Linked DNA regions of Homo sapiens: regions 2, 3, 4, 5 and 6 are each linked to region 1. The links are contacts of gene promoters, found by promoter capture Hi-C in blood cells and fetal thymus (Javierre and others, 2016). All regions are on one chromosome and are shown on one strand. Each heading gives the region's core, a stretch centred on a gene start or on the middle of the fragment in contact. The rest is flanking DNA. Distances are from core to core; before and after follow the strand shown.

The links. The method cuts DNA at HindIII sites, captures the fragments that hold promoters and counts their contacts. A CHiCAGO score of 5 or more calls a contact.
Region 2: a fragment that was not itself captured here is called in contact with the fragment with the promoter of PLXND1 in region 1 in 8 of 17 cell types (naive CD8 T cells, total B cells, neutrophils and 5 more); the score reaches 6.7 in naive CD8 T cells.
Region 3: a fragment that was not itself captured here is called in contact with the fragment with the promoter of PLXND1 in region 1 in 6 of 17 cell types (total CD8 T cells, naive CD4 T cells, naive CD8 T cells and 3 more); the score reaches 5.9 in total CD8 T cells.
Region 4: a fragment that was not itself captured here is called in contact with the fragment with the promoter of PLXND1 in region 1 in 2 of 17 cell types (neutrophils and naive CD4 T cells); the score reaches 5.9 in neutrophils.
Region 5: a fragment that was not itself captured here is called in contact with the fragment with the promoter of PLXND1 in region 1 in 8 of 17 cell types (M1 macrophages, M0 macrophages, M2 macrophages and 5 more); the score reaches 8.2 in M1 macrophages.
Region 6: a contact is called between a fragment that was not itself captured here and the fragment with the promoter of PLXND1 in region 1, in 2 of 17 cell types (M1 macrophages and M0 macrophages). The highest score is 5.9, in M1 macrophages.

What each region holds. Positions count from the first base shown.
Region 1 is chr3:129,605,256-129,608,113 of GRCh38, reverse strand. PLXND1 (plexin D1) reads left to right here and starts at 1,438. Exons shown (of 36, transcript NM_015103.3): 1 at 1,438-2,785. The coding sequence starts at 1,475. RefSeq lists enhancers at 1-216, 217-1,209, 2,202-2,858 and silencers at 1,110-1,269, 1,420-1,479. The HindIII fragment of the contact is 18,333 bases long and covers 1-2,858 here.
Region 2 is chr3:129,995,707-129,998,564 of GRCh38, reverse strand. It overlaps the pseudogene LOC124906284 and the pseudogene RPS17P9. Among named protein-coding and RNA genes, the nearest start is that of TRH, 22 kb to the right of the region's middle. The HindIII fragment of the contact is 3,275 bases long and covers 1-2,858 here.
Region 3 is chr3:129,974,257-129,977,114 of GRCh38, reverse strand. TRH (thyrotropin releasing hormone) reads right to left here and starts at 2,395. Exons shown (of 3, transcript NM_007117.5): 1 at 2,292-2,395; 2 at 1,088-1,306; 3 at 1-416. The coding sequence starts at 1,298. It also overlaps the pseudogene LOC124906284. The HindIII fragment of the contact is 1,015 bases long and covers 855-1,869 here.
Region 4 is chr3:129,955,779-129,958,636 of GRCh38, reverse strand. No RefSeq gene overlaps it. Among named protein-coding and RNA genes, the nearest start is that of TRH, 18 kb to the left of the region's middle. The HindIII fragment of the contact is 5,965 bases long and covers 1-2,858 here.
Region 5 is chr3:129,886,724-129,889,581 of GRCh38, reverse strand. The region is part of intron 1 of TMCC1 (transmembrane and coiled-coil domain family 1); the gene reads left to right. Among named protein-coding and RNA genes, the nearest start is that of TMCC1, 5.6 kb to the left of the region's middle. The HindIII fragment of the contact is 3,283 bases long and covers 1-2,858 here.
Region 6 is chr3:129,867,053-129,869,910 of GRCh38, reverse strand. All of the region lies in intron 2 of TMCC1 (transmembrane and coiled-coil domain family 1), which reads left to right. Among named protein-coding and RNA genes, the nearest start is that of TMCC1, 25 kb to the left of the region's middle. The HindIII fragment of the contact is 2,488 bases long and covers 224-2,711 here.

The sequences.
Region 1 (2,858 bases), core at 189-2,688:
GAGAGGTCGGAGCTGAAGGGCTTTTGCTTTCAAACACTGTAGCTCTGCTCCTCATGAGCTGTGCATCTTGGGCCAGTCCCTTCCCCTCAGCCTTGGTTTCCATATCTGGAAGATGGGTTACCAATAGCGCTCGCCTCGGGGGAATCTGTGAGGAAAAAGAGAGCCCGTACATGGCAAGTGCTTGGCACAGTGTCTGGCACGGGCTAGCCCTGTGTGAGCACCCCCGCAAAACAGCCACGGCGCATGGTCCTCACAGGGCTGTGACCTTGGAACCAGGCTGCCTGCCCCTAACGCTGCTTTTGAGATCAAGAACCCTGCCCAGTGCCGGCTTTTGTGGGACTAATCTTCCACTAAGCCTGGGAGGATGTCAGGGAAAGTGCCTGGCGGGGGTGCCAGGGGTGGGGGTGCGGCTGGGTCTCCACAGGAGGCAACTGTGGGCTCCAGGACCAAGGCCTTGCTCTGGCTATCGGTTGTGGGCCACTGGCTGGAACTATTTCCTCTCTCCATGTTTTCCTCATTTATATATCTGACCCTGAGCACTGGTCCCTCTGGCCCTGCCACTTGTAAATCCCTTTTATGGGTCTGGGGTTTGGGGGACAGATTATGGGGTCTGGGGGGCCCGACTGGCCGGCACCGGGGGAGCGAAGGCCTGGACAGTGCCTGAGAAAGGTGGTGGAGGGAGGCTGAGTGTGGAGGGGAGACACAGGGTTCGGGAAGGCAGAGGGAGAAGGAAAGGGGAGCTCAGAGGGACCGAGAGAGGGACGGAGGGTCCGAGGGGGAGGCAGAGGGAGCCACGGAGAGAGGGAGCGAGCGTCAGGGACGGAAAAACGGAGCAGGAGAGAGAAGGAGACTAGAAAGGGCCGGGGGCGGGGCTGCCAGGGACTGGAGAGCGAAGCGGAGTCGGAGGGAGAAGGAGAAGCAGAGGCAGAACCCGGAGAAGCGCCACACGCGCGGAGTTTGGGGTGGGGACAGAGACGGAGAGACGCAGAGACCGAGAGACGCAGAGAGAGGGAGAGACGGGGTGGGGGAGAGGGCGGAAAAGAGAAAACAGGCGCGAGCGAGGCAGGCCAAGCGGCCAAGTGGGAGGAAAGAGCGAGGAGAGCGAGCGACGGCGGCGGCGGCTACGGGGAGGGACCCTGGGGCCGCGGGCGGGTCCTGGAGGGCGCGGGCGGCGGGACCCGCGGACGGCGGGGCGTGGCCCAGGGCGGCCAGGGGCAGGCGGGGGTCCCGGGGGCGGGCGGGGCCGGGGCGGGGAGTGAGGGCGTGTCCGCAGCGGAGCCGCCCCCGCCCCGCCCCCGGGCTGCGCGGCGAGGCTGACCCGGGCCCGGGCGCCGGGGTCGGGGGCGGCTGGCGCGGGCAGGAAGCGCATCGCGGCCCGGGCCCGCCCCCCGCCTCCCGCCGCCTCCGGGCTCCCGGCTCCCGGCCGCGCCTCGCCCCATGCACTCGCCGCGCCGCGCAGCCCGCGCACGCCCGGATGGCTCCTCGCGCCGCGGGCGGCGCACCCCTTAGCGCCCGGGCCGCCGCCGCCAGCCCCCCGCCGTTCCAGACGCCGCCGCGGTGCCCGGTGCCGCTGCTGTTGCTGCTGCTCCTGGGGGCGGCGCGGGCCGGCGCCCTGGAGATCCAGCGTCGGTTCCCCTCGCCCACGCCCACCAACAACTTCGCCCTGGACGGCGCGGCGGGGACCGTGTACCTGGCGGCCGTCAACCGCCTCTATCAGCTGTCGGGCGCCAACCTGAGCCTGGAGGCCGAGGCGGCCGTGGGCCCGGTGCCCGACAGCCCGCTGTGTCACGCTCCGCAGCTGCCGCAGGCCTCGTGCGAGCACCCGCGGCGCCTCACGGACAACTACAACAAGATCCTGCAGCTGGACCCCGGCCAGGGCCTGGTAGTCGTGTGCGGGTCCATCTACCAGGGCTTCTGCCAGCTGCGGCGCCGGGGCAACATCTCGGCCGTGGCCGTGCGCTTCCCGCCCGCCGCGCCGCCCGCCGAGCCCGTCACGGTGTTCCCCAGCATGCTGAACGTGGCGGCCAACCACCCGAACGCGTCCACCGTGGGGCTAGTTCTGCCTCCCGCCGCGGGCGCGGGGGGCAGCCGCCTGCTCGTGGGCGCCACGTACACCGGTTACGGCAGCTCCTTCTTCCCGCGCAACCGCAGCCTGGAGGACCACCGCTTCGAGAACACGCCCGAGATCGCCATCCGCTCCCTGGACACGCGCGGCGACCTGGCCAAGCTCTTCACCTTCGACCTCAACCCCTCCGACGACAACATCCTCAAGATCAAGCAGGGCGCCAAGGAGCAGCACAAGCTGGGCTTCGTGAGCGCCTTCCTGCACCCGTCCGACCCGCCGCCGGGTGCACAGTCCTACGCGTACCTGGCGCTCAACAGCGAGGCGCGCGCGGGCGACAAGGAGAGCCAGGCGCGGAGCCTGCTGGCGCGCATCTGCCTGCCCCACGGCGCCGGCGGCGACGCCAAGAAGCTCACCGAGTCCTACATCCAGTTGGGCTTGCAGTGCGCGGGCGGCGCGGGCCGCGGCGACCTCTACAGCCGCCTGGTGTCGGTCTTCCCAGCCCGGGAGCGGCTCTTTGCTGTCTTCGAGCGGCCCCAGGGGTCCCCCGCGGCCCGCGCTGCTCCGGCCGCACTCTGCGCCTTCCGCTTCGCCGACGTGCGAGCCGCCATCCGAGCTGCGCGCACCGCCTGCTTCGTGGAACCGGCGCCCGACGTGGTGGCGGTGCTCGACAGCGTGGTGCAGGGCACGGGACCGGCCTGTGAGCGCAAGCTCAACATCCAGGTACACCCGGGCGGTGGCGGCGGCGGCGGCGGCGGCGGCGGCGGGGGCGGGGGCGGGGGCGGGCGGGAACCGA
Region 2 (2,858 bases), core at 106-2,605, 390 kb before region 1:
CCTTCTTCATGGTTTGAGGGCAGACATGGCCTATGTTGGCAGATCCTTGCAAAAGAGGAACTTCAGGTATTTTTTTTGAGTAAAAACTGCTTCAAGCCATTTTTGGAATCAAATAGAGTGGCTACCAGAAATAGGCTGATTTCATAGTTAGGCATAGTGGTGCGTGCCTGTAGTCCCAGCTACTTGGGAGGCTGAGGCAGGAGAATGGCTTGAACCTGAGATTGGCTTGAGCCAAGATCGTGCCAGCCACTCCAGCCTGGGCAACAGAGCAAGAGAAGGAAAAGAAAGAAAGAAAAGAAGGAAGGAGAAAGAAAAAGAGAGAAAGAGAGAGAGAAAAAGAGAGAAAGAAGGAAGGAAAGTCAGAAAGAAAGAGAAAGAAGGAAGGAAGGAAAGTCAGAAAGAAAGAAAAAGAAAGGAAAGAGAAGGAAAGAAAGAAAGGAAGAAAAAGAAAGAAAGAAAGAAAAAGAAAAGAAAGAAAGGGAGAAAGGAGGGAGGGAAGGAAGGAAAGAAGAAGGAAGGAAGGAAGTTGATTTCATTTCAGCCAGGCGTGGTGGCTCACACCTGTAATCCCAGCACTTTGGGAGGCTGAGGCAAGCTATATCACTTGAGGTCAGGAGTTTGTGACCAGCCTGGCCAACAATGGTGAAACCCTGTCTTTACTAAAAATACAAAAATTAAGGCCAGGTGCAGTGGCTCATGCCTGTAATCCCAGCACTTTGGGAGGCCGAGGTGGGTGGATCACCTGAGGTCAGGAGTTCAAGACCAGCCTGACCAACATGGAGAAACCTCGTCTCTACTAAAAATACAAAATTAGCTGGGCATGGTGGCGCATGCCTGTAATCCCAGCTGCTCAAGAGGCTGAGGCAGGAGAATCATTAGAACCCAAAAGGTGGAGGTTGCAGTGAGCCAAGATCACGCCATCACACTCCAGCCTGGGCAACAAGAGCAAAACTCCGTCTCAAAAAAAAAAAAATTAGCCGGGCGTGGTGGGTGCACCTGTAATCCCAGCTACTCGGGAGGCTGAGGCAGGAGAATCGCTTGAACCCAGGAGGTGGAGGCTACGGTGAGCTGAGATCTCACCACTGCACTCCAGCCTGGGTGACAGAGTGAGACTCCACCTCTAAAAAGAAAAAGAAAAAGAAAAAATAGATTGATTTCAAAAAGATTAATCACTGAAAATAGCTGTTGTTGGAAATGGTGTGGAGCAATGAGTTCTCTGAAACCTCACTCACTATGGGTGGGTGTATAAATTGGGAGCGGCTTTCTATGGAGCAGTTGGCAGTATTTGTGAAAATGTTAACTACCCATGCCCATTGTCCTAGCAATTTTGCTTGTAGGTGTTCTATCCCACAGAAACTCGCATGTCTATACAAAGACAGGAGCAAGACTGCTTATGATGGCGTTGTTTATAATCAGGAAGTGCTGAAAATAACCTAAATATCCATCCATAGGGGTGTGCATAAGTGACTTTTGATGCACCCATGCGTCAACCATTATAGTGATTAAAAAGAACAAGGGAAATATCTAACGACTGACATGAGGACAGCTCTAAGATGTGCGGTGGTATCAGAAAAGTCTTGAGACAATAGTGTGCAAATATATGTGCATGTGGCTGTGTACAAATGTAGAGAAAATGATCTGGAAAGTTACAGCCCTGGTCCCTGTTGCCTGGCATGTTCCAGAAACAGCAAGGAGGCTAAGGAGGATGGTGTGAATGAGGGGAGAGTAGGAGGAGCTGGGTCAAAGAAGTCGCAATAGGCAGAGGACATTGTCCCTGCTGGGTGTGCAGGACCCTCCCCCTTGGCCACCACAGTGCAGCTAGATCCACCAGCTCATGCCCAGAGTTTCTGGTTCTTCCCTGTATTAATGATACCTTTCTATCTTCTATGTTTCTGATGCTTTGACATCTGGGGTCTTGGTAACCCTGGAGGGATTGCTCCTCCCAGGGATGGCCAAGAGATAGTAAAGGACTGGCCTGTAAGTGTGCATTTAACATGCAAACTAATCAATGCACAGCCCCCACCCGCACCACCCCCTTTATCTCTGGGCTCTTTCACTCCAGGCCACTATTCTCCTGCCCTAATCACTCCAGGGCCAGGTACCAAGCATCTAGGGTCAGCCGCTATGCCCCAAAGCCTGCTGAAATTATTCAATCTAGCCAATCCTAAGCCTGTTTACCCTGCCTCACCTGGAAACTAAAGTAAAGGATCTTGCCCCATTTGCCCCTCACACCCTCTGCCTCCTGATTGACCCTCATGCCTCTCCTTGTGGCTCTTCCTGGCATGGCATGCCCCCTCCTCTTGGGACCTGTGAGTAACAAACTCTTTTCTGTGGCAGTCGTCTCCTGAGCTGTTGGTCTCACTGTACTTGAGTAATAATAAGACTTACATCCGTATTTGAAACACACCCCACAGGGTGTGGGATGGAAAGACCTCAGAGCCCCCAAAATGACCAAATGATGCCAGAAGTACAAAAGAATTTATCGTTCATTGGCCACAGAACCAAGGTTGACTAATGAGACCCAGGAGACAGGAGGGATCCAGGTAGATAAACCCCCTCTCCTTCCATCTTTCTCTGGACTATCTGAGACTGGATTTCTCCTTGCAGTCCTCCTGGAGGTGTTCTGTGTAAGGTGGGTGTACCTCCAGAGCAGCCACGAGGGTGATTGTGGAGTGATGGCCTCATGGTACCACCCTTCCCATGGCTTCCCTGCTCCCTTTCTCGGCCTGTGATCATCCTGGGCTCATATCTGGGCTTGCACCACCCAAAGGAAGCAGCCACACATTCATCCTTGCCCTGAGCCCCATTTCTAGAGAAAGCAGGCTAACCAACTTCAACTGTGAACTGTGGCAACATCT
Region 3 (2,858 bases), core at 113-2,612, 370 kb before region 1:
CAGAAGGCCCGCTTGACCATAGGCTCCCTGGGGCCCACAGGGGCCTCCCAGGGCCCTCTTGCCCGGATGCTGGCGTTTTTCAGGCATCAGGTCTTCCTCTCTCTCTTCCTCCTCCTCCTCTTCTTCCCAGCTCCTTTGAGCCTTGGGATCTGCCAGCCTTCTGCCTGGGTGCTGCCGCTTCGGGACAGCATATGCAAGCCAGGGGGAGCGCCGGCCAGGATGCTGCCGCTTGTGCTGGGTTACATCGACTGACCATGAAGCCTCATCTTCTCGTCGGCCAGGGTGCTGCCGTTTGTGGGGTCCCACAGCCCCCCCTTCTTCCTCTTCCTCTTCTTCAACTCCCTCTTCCTCCTCCTCCTCTCTTTTGCCTGGATGCTGACGTTTGGAGAGCCAGTCAGATTGAAAGATCTGGGACGCTGGGGAAGGAAAGAGGTCAGTGAGGGGCCCCTGACCCATGTAATAGGCAGGCGCCTGAGTGCCCACTCCTGCTTTTCTCCCAGGCAGGGTACATTTCCTGCAGCTCCCACTCAGAGGCATGGTCTTGCACCTGCCCCTCAGGCCTCACAGATACACACATTCACACAATAGTCAAAGGCATTGCCTCTGGGTTCCAATCCCAGCTCTGGCGCTCCCTAGTTGTCTGACCATAAGCGACTCAATTGATCTCTGGGAGCCTCAGTTTTCTTCTGTGTAAAATCGTAATAACAGTACCTAACTAAGAGGTTGTTAGGAAGATCAAACAGTGTGATAAGGTGTTTGAAGTGCTTGGAATAGTGTCTGGCACAGAAGTGCCTAGACAGTAGTAATTCAAACTGTCACACACAAAGAAACTCTCTCCCTAGCACACAGAAGCTTCCCCACCCAGGGCCTGCTCTCTGTGAAATATTCCCAGCATTGAGACAGGGGAGGAATCTGACCCCGAGGAATGGTCAACTCCAGATCCCGCCTAGGCGCAGCCAGGGAGGGTTTCTGAGCTTCCGAAAGGCAGAAGGCTAGCTGACCAAGCCTCCCCTCCCCTTTGCCGGCAGGTTTCCACGGCTCTCCCAATAGCCTAGCCCCACAGCCCCCAACAGCCCCATCCACTCACCGGAGTGCTCACCCTGGTCCCCTTGCAGCCGCTGGATGTTTTCCCGGAGGAAGAGGAGGCGCTCCACCTGGCGCAGGAAGTCATCCAGGCCCGGATGCTCCGCGGCCGTCACTGCCTCCTGCTGGGCCGCCTCTGGCTGAGCACGGCCGCCGGGGACACCGGTCAGGTTCAGGGTCAAAGCCAGAGCGAGCAGCAACCAAGGGCCGGGCATCGCGGCGTCTGGGTTAGGGGACAGAGGGAGCCTGAGCGCACCGAATCACAGCACATCCCGCTCCATCTCCCCCGACGCCCGCCAGAAACAAACCACGCACAGTTCAACCGCCCTCCCAGAAGCAGGACCACTGCCCCTCGTGCAGGGGCGGGAGCAGCGGCGGGTTCGCCCCGGCTCTGCGTCCACACCTGTCACCTCTAGGCGTCCTCGCCCCCACGGGTGCCTGTAGTGCCTGCGCCCAGTTCTGCTTGCGCAAGGCAGGAGGCCGTAGGAACCCCATCGCCAGCGCCACCGCCACCCTTCAATGTGACGCGGAACTGGGGAAGCCAACGCTGGGACTGCCTCGCCGGGAGTGCAACCATTGAGATTGCAGCGCCAGGCACAGCCGCGACGCTAACGGTTGCGTCCCCGCCAAGACTCCCCCAAAGGTCCCCATCGCCACGTTCTAACTCCAAGCTCCGTGGCCGACGTCCTCATTCCAACGCGAAGATCCCATTTCTATCGCTAAGATTCAGGTTCTAAAGCTCAAAGTCTATTTGCAAAGCTAAGATTCTATTTCTAATGCTAAGCTTTCATGACTAAGCCAGGAATCTGATTCTAACGCTAAAATCCTAACTTCAACGCTAAAATTCTATTTCTAGCGTTGAGATTGGGATTCGAACTCCCAGGTTCTCAGGCCGACGCCCTGAATACCCAGCTCTGTCCGGCGGCACCCAGGCAGGGGGTGCCGCGGAGCTCCCACCCCGCGCTGCGGACTCTGGCGACCTGAGTGCCCAGCAGCGAGAGCCTCCGATGTGCCCGCGCCGTGCCTCCCGTCGGGTCCCCGGCCTGCGCTCGGGGAGGACCCGGGGGTGCGAGCACAGCGCCCGCCTGTGCACCGGCCCTGTTCTCCAGGAAGCTCTCAGAGAACCGAAGGTGAGGGCGGGCCGAGAGGGCTCCCTTTCCAGTGCTCCCGGACACCGTCTGCGGAAGGAGAGGGGTTGGGGCGGTTACCTGCCAGGAGTGGGCTCCACAGGATGGGTCCGGGATCCGGGGACTCGGGATCCGCAGTCGGCAGGTCAGGAGTCTGCAGCGCTGAGGACCCCGGGCGCCTGCCGAGCCCTCTTCAGATGGGCCGCCGCTTATATCTGCGCCAGGCGGCGGCTCGAGTGAGGTCAGCGGGGAGGGGTCGCGGCCGCCGGGAAGGGGCGCTGACGGCAGCCGGCCCCGCGGGACCCCGCCCGCCTGCTCCTCCGGAAATCTGGGGCGGGGACGGTGGGGACCGGAGCCGGGGCGCGGAGGCACTGGCCGCAGGATGGGGCGCCGGCGCGGGGTCGTTTCTGCACCACCTCTGGAGATCTGTTGACGAGAACACGCGTGTAGGGGGCAAAGGGAGGGACAGAGAGATTGAGAGAAGCGCACGATTAAACACAGGCGCACGAGAGAGCTAGAGGGCGAGACAAAGACCGAGATCCACACGGAGACGACGGAGAAACACAGGGCAGACACACACGAAAGGGACACGGCCGCAGAACCAATGTAGAACGCAGACGGGCGAGAGTAGAGCAAGAGAGAGAGAGA
Region 4 (2,858 bases), core at 152-2,651, 350 kb before region 1:
TGTCCCTCCCATCTGGGGCGCCTACCTTCTCCATCTGCCTCTCCAAGTCATATCCCTCCTTCCCCAGCTTGACTCCCACTTGTCTAGGAAGCCTGTTCTAATGCCAGTGAACTTTTTCTGTCCTCCTCTACAAAGTCGTGACTTTTCCTTCCTCCACACCTGAGGCTCAGAGAGGTGAGGTGATTTTCTCAGGGTCACACGTCTCAAAAGCAATAGAGCTGGGATTCAAACTCAGGTCTATCTGACTCCACAGTCCAGTCTCCTCTCCCTCTTTCTTTCTTTCTTCTTTCTTTCTTTCATTCTTTCTTTCTCTTTTTATTTCTTTCTTCTCTCTCTTTCTTTTCAGATAGGGTCTCACTCTGTCACCCAGGCTAGAGTGCAGTGGTACAATTATAGCTCACTATAACCTCAAACTCCTGGGCTCAAGTGATCTTCTTGCTTCAGCCTCCCGAGTAGCTGGGACTACAGGTACACATCACCACACTTGGCTAATTTTTTTATTTTTTGCAGAGACAGGTCTTGCTGTGTTGCCCAGGCTGGTCTCAAACTCCTGTCCTCAAGTGATCCTCCTGCCTCAGCCTCCCAAAGTGCTGGGATTACCGGTGTAAGCCACCACGCCAGTCCAAAGCAGTCTCTTTCTATTACATTTTCTAAGATGCTAGAATTTAGGAGTTACATTTCATGCACATTTAAGTTGTATCCATATTTTATTATTATAAGCAATGCTGTAATGAACATCTTCACAGTTTAGTTTATGTTATTAGCATGAATTCCTAGGAGTGGAATTAAGGGTCAAGGTGGAATTAAGGGTCTGAGCATTCATTCAGTCAACAGATATTTCTCATCACTGCCACTGCTGCCAGTCTGGTCCATCCTCACTCACCTGGATGTCTATGGGGGCCTCTTAAGTAGACATACTTCTTCCTCACCTCCTCCTGTGGTATATTGAAAATTAGTCCCAATTCTTCACCTCTTCCTGCAGCCACACCTCTGCCAATGGGATGGATAGATTTCCGTCTCCCTTAACCTTGGCCTTGGCTATTGAATGGCACTGGTCAACAGGATGGAGCATAAGTGGGCCCCCACCTGGGATTTAAGAGCATTTTCACTCGCCCTCTTGTGCTTCTGCCATGGCCACTGGAACATGCCTTGGCTCACCCGCTGCTGCTGGGAGGAGAATCAGATACAGTTGGAGCAGAGCCACTCCAACTTGTCTGCAGGCCTATGAGATGAGATGATCATTGTTTGAAACCACTGGGTTTTGGGGTGGCTTGTTATGTGGCATTATTGTGAAATAGCTGACAGATATGCCCCCCACCTCCAATCTATTCTCCACACACCACAATTATCTCTTTAATATTTTTTAAATAATTTGTGCTTTATGTGCTGTAGAACTTTGCCACTCCATGCCCAAGGACCCTAGGAGCAAGCTGATGAGATACAGGAAGCAGAGGTGGCTGATCAGGCCACAGTACACTCAGATCTCTTCCACATTCATGAGGGTTGACTGAGGCCAAGGTTGCTCACAGAGGAGGTGGAAGAAGCCTGCAACCCTCCCTGGAAGGAGAAAGGGAAGGCCAGTCCCCAACATTTACCAGGGCCTGTTTCATCCTCTCAGGGCCTGTTTCAACCATGGTTCTAACTATCCCCATTCCACCCACAAGAAAACAGGCTCAAAAAAGCAAAGTGGTTTTCCCAGAGTTGCATGATGAGGACATAGCAGTAGTGGGATTGGAACCCTGGCCAGCCTGTTGCCAAGGTATGTCCTGCCCTCCATGCCTTGGCTGGCCTGATCCTAGGGAGTCAGATCAGACCTCTCCCTATGATCACCCCTTCTGCCTCTGGTTATGGCTACTTTCTGGCTGTTTGACCTGAGGCAAGTGATGTCACCTCTCTGGGCCACTAGATTGGAAACTCTGGGAGCAGGGAATTTCTTTTGGTGACTGCTCTATCCCTTCATCTAGAACAGAGCCTACCACTTAATAGATGCTGAAGTAAAGAATGAATGAAAGAATAAATTAATAGTTCTATTTGCCTATCTCTTCATCAAAACCCCAGGATTTCTTCTGTTGAGCACCAGACAAAAGGGTGCTTGAATTTGGAGACTATTTTGATAGCCTCCGAGTGCAGAGAGCCCTGGGAATAAGGCCAGCCTGACTCTAGCCCAACTATTCTCCAGGAGAAGTGACTTATTTGCTCCTCAGTTTCTTCTCTATCAAGTTGACCTCATTGTAGTTCCTACCACAGAGATTGGGTGAGGTTGATTGAGATGTAAGCCACCTGCCACACAATTAGTACCTAATAGACAGGTGGTTGCCATCTGGACTAATGGTAGATGTTTAGGCTAAGTGACCAGCTGAGGATATGACTGGGCAGAACCGTCAAGATGCCCTAGAGGGGAATGTTGAGGTCTCCAGGCAGGAGACCTTAACTATCTCCTGAGAACAGTATGAGCAGTAAGGTCTCTGGCTCTGGGCAGATGGGGGCATGGACAGGAAGGGGGTGAGAGAAGCAGACTCCTGGCTGTTTCATTCCTTCTCTGAATTAGGTCCCCACCAAGCTGTCCTTGGATAGGAGGGACGCGGAGGTGGCAGGCACTTGTAATGAGCAGAGAGCTCGCCCAGGCAAGGCCGGCCATTGATCGCCTGGCTCCTGACTTGTTTCAGCAGCAAGGGAGGAGGGAGAGGGAGTATGTGTGTCCCCAGGAGCAGCATGCAAGTGTCCAGGCATCAGCGTGACCCTGAAGTAGAGATGGCGGGGGGTGGCAAGGGGGATGGCCAGAGGCCCCCAACCCATCTGTGCTCAGCACACATGAGTGTGCCAGGTGAGTTCCAGGTACTTGGCATTCGTGATCTCCT
Region 5 (2,858 bases), core at 248-2,747, 280 kb before region 1:
CTGCAGAGTTCCTGCCTATCCTACACTGTTTCCCATATTATTAACGTCTTACATCCCTGTGATCATTTGTCTGTATTAATAAACCAGTATTGATACATTATCACAGAGACCATACTTTATCAGGTTTCCACAGGTTTTTTCCTTAATGTTCTTTCACTATCCCAGGATCCCATCCACAATACCACATTACATTTAGTAATTATGTCTCCTTAGCTCCTCTTGGTTGTGACAATTTCTCAGACTTTCCCTGTATTTAGTGACCTTGGCAGTTTTGAACATTACTGGTCAGGTTTTGTTTGTTTGTTTTTTTGAGACAGGATCTCCCTCTGTCACCAAGACTGGAGTGCAGTGGAACGATCTCATCTCACTGCAGCCTCAACACTCTGGGGTCAAGTGATCCTCTGACCTCAATGTCCGGAGTAGCTGGGCCCAGAGATGTGTGCCATCATGCTCTGCTAATTTTTGTACTTTTTGTAGAGATGGGGTTTCACCATGGTGCCCAGGCTGGTCTCGAACTCCTAGAACCAAGCAATCCACCCTCCTCAGCTTCCTAAAGTGCTGGGATTACAGGCGTGAGTCACTGTGTCCAGCCGTGGTCAGGTATTTTTATAGAACGTTCTTTGGGATTTATCTGATGTTTTCATTGTGGTTAGGCCAAGAATGTAATATGCTTTTGGAAGGAAGACCACAGGGCTAAAGTGTCATTCTCATCACATATTAGGGATGTATACTACCAGTATGACTTATCAGTGTTGATGTTAACCCTGCTCATCTGGCTTGAGGCAGAGTTTGTTTTCTGCAAAGTTACTCTTTCCTCCTCTCTTTCCTACTGTACTCTGGAAAATTGTCACTATGTACAGCCCACACTTAGTGGTGATGAGTTATGTTCTACCTCCTTAAGGGTGGTGTATCTACTTAAATTTCATTGCTAAATTATTTCAGCTTTGGCCATTGGGAGCTCTTTAAGTTGGCTCCTGTATCCTTTCTCTTTGACATATCTCCATCATTGTGTGTGTACTTTCTTCCTTTCTGGCAACATAAGATGCTCTTAAGGTTCATCTTGTATATTTTCTGCTCCAGTCCTGTAATCAGTCATTTCTCAAGGAGCCCTGGTACCTTTTATTGAAGAATGGTGTTACAAACCAAGATCTGGGTGATAGGTGTGCTTGTTGGTACTGAAGTGTTGTATCTTCTAGGCCCTCTCAAGGGACGGAGGAAGGAGATATATGTGTACATATTAACCTGTGTATATACACATATCTATATATGTTTCTATATGTAACTGTGTCTTTATTAAGCTAAACATGACTTCGTGATGTCTCCAACTCTAATTCATTACCACATGTATCATTCTAACCTTACCTTGCTTATATGTAACCTCCTGCTTCATCAGTGAAAAACCTGCCTCCCACCATCTGCCAGAATTAATTATTCCATTCCAGCATACACGTATAGTGGTTTCAGAACTGTTAATCTGTATACCTGTGGGAAACTAGTTTATCAACTAGAGACTTACAGATAGTTCTTTTTGCCTTTAGTTTTATAGACAGCACTCATTTCTAATGTTTTTTAGGTCAGCAGCTTTCCCTACTTACTTCCTGAAGTCGTCTCGTGTATTTGTGATAGATTTAGATTTTGTCACATTCTGCATTTTTTGCTGAGCTACCTTTATCTCCTAATTACTTAAGAATTTGCACACATTAAAGTTTATTCTTTGTGATATAAATTTCTATGGGTTTTGACAGCTTCTAGTATTTTATGTTTAACATTACAGTATCATACAGATTAGTTCCACAGCTCTAGAAAGTTTGTCTCTCACTGATTTACTTCCCTCACACCAGCCTCTGGCAACCTCACTGATCTTTTAACTGTCTCTATAGTTTTGCCTTTTTTAGAATGTCAATATATTATATTTTAAAAAGTGTTTTTGAGTGGTCTTTTTTTTAATGCTCACAGTATTTTGTTAAGGAGTGGAGGAGATACAGGTACAAGATAAATAACATTTAGAAGTTCTTTTTTGTTGTTTTTTTTTTTTTTTTGAGAGACGGAGTCTTGCTCTGTCGCCAGGTTGGAGTGCAGTGGCGCGATCTTGGCTCACTGCAGCCTCCACCTCCCGGGTTCAAGTGATTCTTCTGCCTCAGCCTCCTGAGTAGCTGGGACTACAGGCTCATGCCACCATGCCCAGCTAATTTTTGTATTTTTAATAGAGACGGGATTCCCCCATGTTGGCCAGGGTGGTCTCGATCTCTTGACCTCATGATCCGCCCTCCTTGGCCTCCCAAAGTGCTGGGATTACAGGCATGAGCCAGTGCACCTAGCCCAGTATTTTTTTTTTTCTTAAGGTAAAATTCCTATAAAATACAATTTATGATTTGAAATATGTAGTTAACCATTTTAAATCTACGGTTAAGTGGCTTTTAGTTCATTCACAGTGTAACATGTGCAGCCACCACCGCTGCCAAACTCTAGAACATTTTCATCACCCCAAAAAGAAACCCCATACCTATTAAGCAGTCCCTCTCTTTGTTCCCTGGCAACCACAGTCTGATTTTTGTCCTATGGGTTTGCCTATTCTAAACATGTCACATAAATGGAATCATAATACCTGGCCTTTTGGGGTTTTTTTTGTTTATTTTATTTTATTTGAGACGGAGTCTCACTCTGTCTCCCAGGCTGGAGTGCAGTGGTGTGATCTCGGCTCACTGCAACCTCCGCCTCCCGGGTTCCAGGGATTCTCCTGCCTCAGCCTCCCGAGTAGCTGGGATTACAGGTGCACACACCACACCTGGCTAATTTTTTTTTTTTTTGTAGAAACGGTTTCACCATGTTGGCCAGGCTGGTCTTGAACTCCTGACCTC
Region 6 (2,858 bases), core at 218-2,717, 260 kb before region 1:
TCTGCTGTTGAGGACAGTATCTGCATCTCAGAGTTTTGTACACTGCAAATAATTTATGCTGAGCTTAATGCCTGGCATGTAGATGGCATAAAATTAATGCCAGGTATTTTTAGTGGCAACTGTTCTTGACAGCATTGCTTACATTTTTGGGTTTTCTATTTGTACATGTGCATCAAGGTAAGTTGGGAGGTTATATCAACAAATACATTTGTATCATCAAGCTTTACAAATATATCCCAAGAATTACTACCTATGGGGGTTTTTCCATACCACACCTAATTCACCTTCAGTTCTATGACACTGAGTGTTCAACAATTCCATTCAATTCTGACACTGTCTACCTGGAGTTAGTGTCAGATCTCAAGTTAAAGGGCTCAGTCCCAAAAGACTGCTGCTGCTTGAGATGCTAGTCACAAGTCTTGGGCCACCCACACTTCTGTCTGGCTTGGCTGCAAATTCAGGGGTTCTCGTGACCCCTTCCTCAGGTTCGTTAATTCACTGGAAAGACTCATAGAACTCAGGAAAACACTTATGTTTATCAATTTATTATAAAGGGTACAACTCAGGAACAGCTAAATGAAATAAATACATAGGGCAAGCTATGGGGGAGGGGTGTGAGGCTTTCATGTCCTCTCTGGGCACAAAACCCTCCCAGCACCTCCATGTATTCACTACCTGGGAATCTTTCCAAACCCCATCATTTAGTCAGTCCCCAGTTCCTCTCTCTTCCCCAAAGGTTGAGGAGTGGAGGACTAAAAGTTCCAATACTCTAATCGCTTGGTTGGTTCCCCTGGCAACCAGCCCTATCCTGAAGCTATCTAGAGGCCCACCAAGAGTCACCTAATTAGTATAAACTCAGGTGTGGTTGAAAGGAATACATTATGAATAACAAAAAGCGCTTCTGTTATTGAGGAAAACCTAAGGGTTTTAGGAGCTCTGCCAGGAATCAAGGACAAAGACCAAATATGTATGTTTCTTATAGCACACTACTATACATAAAACTAGATTTTGTTTTTAGAACAGAGGGCTGGGTTTCAGAATATCAGTATTGAATTCCTTAGGTCATTGATATATTTCTTTCTGTAGCCATAGGGTCACCAATTTGATTATTGGTAATGTCAGTAACATTTGTTTTGAGATCCTTTGATGAAAGGTTCCATTGAAACAGCTAGGCTGGGCGCAGTGGCTCACGCCTGTAATCCTAGCACTTTGGAAGGCCAAGGTGGGTGGATCACTTGAGGTCAGGAGTCCGAGGACCAGCCTGGCCAACATGGTGAAACCCCGTCACTACTAAAAATACAAAAATTAGCTGGGCATGATGGTGTGCACCTGTGATCCCAGCTCCTTGGGAGACTAAGGCAGGAGAATCACTTGAACCCAGGAGGTGGAGGTTGCAGTGAGCCAAGATTGCGCCACTGCACTCAAGCCTGGGCAACAGAGCAAGACTCTATCTCAAAAAAGAAAAGAAAAGAAACAGCTAAATGCCATATTCCTGAGGAGTCTTTATCAAATTCCAGTATTGTTTCTTTTTTTGCTTAGACATTTATTCTCAGATGGCTCTGCATGTGATGTGACAAAAACAGATAATTTTTTTCTGCCAGGAATAATGTTCATTTTTTCCAAACTGTTGGGTCATGAAATTTGGGTAGAAATGCCTTTTGGTGGTCTTAATCTCTTTATTGGTAAACAATAGTATGCGAATTTTCATAGCCAGAAAAGGAAGAGTAAATTGTTTGGAATTCCAAATTCTTTCCTGCTTGTATGGTTTTTCCCCCCTCTGCCTGCCTGTTTTAATGTATTTGTTAGAGATGTGGGCGTTGTCTTCTTGTAACACAGGGATTTCCTTAGAATGTGAGCCTTAAATTAATATTTTAAATGTTTTAGAACATCTATGGGAAGTATCTTGATGTACAAGAATGGGTACTAGTCTAACGTAGTGCCTAGCAGAGTTCTTGGCACGTATTAGGCACACAATAAATATGTTACTCTTCTAGAAGTTAGAAGCCTCTGTTCTAGCGTTTGTATGCCACAAACTATCTGTGTGACCTAGAGTCTTCATCTGTCGTCATCTTTAGAATCACTTGTCTTGTAGCTCTGACTCAGTGACTCAGTTTATTCTGGTCTTATTTTTTAAAAACTTATTTCTACTATGGCCTTAAAGTCAGTTTCTTGAAAATAAGCCAATGCAGTCACCAGATAGGATGAACTGGGAAGTGTTGTGAAATAAGCCACCTTCTGTGGCTTCAGTTATTTGCTTGGCTATATGTTCTTTCTTTACTCTGGTAGAGTTACATTAGATTTTCTACCCACACCAGGTTAGGACTAGATAATTTTTTAATTTAGAGACAGATTTAAACCTATCACTGAATTAGCATTTATTGAATACTAATGGTATTGTTAAGGAATTTAGATTTGATATGGCACTTCAAGAAGCCAGTGTGGAAAGAGGAAAACAGGAAAACTAGCTATTGAAGGCCATATGGTTTGTATTATGGAAATATAAAGAAGGAAGAGAATAGGTGACTGTTGAAGCGATTACAGGAGGATTTGATCTGTGTTCTCTATTTGTAATGTTGAAGAAGAAGGCTATCATTGCAAGTATGAAAAATAACATGGATGAAAGCATGGAGATACTTGAATCGTACATTTGTGTTTCTGTGTTTGTGAGACTAGCCCGCCCTACCCATTTGCTGACCTTTTGGAGACAAGCTTAGTTTTGAGTAAGGTCATTTTAAGATATGAAGAGTGGACTTTGAGAGGTAGAATTGAAACAAAGGAAATGAAGAAGTGTTTTTTTTTTTTTAACTCATAGGTAGGATGAATTGGACAAGGATGAGACTCGTGTAGGTGAGGACAGT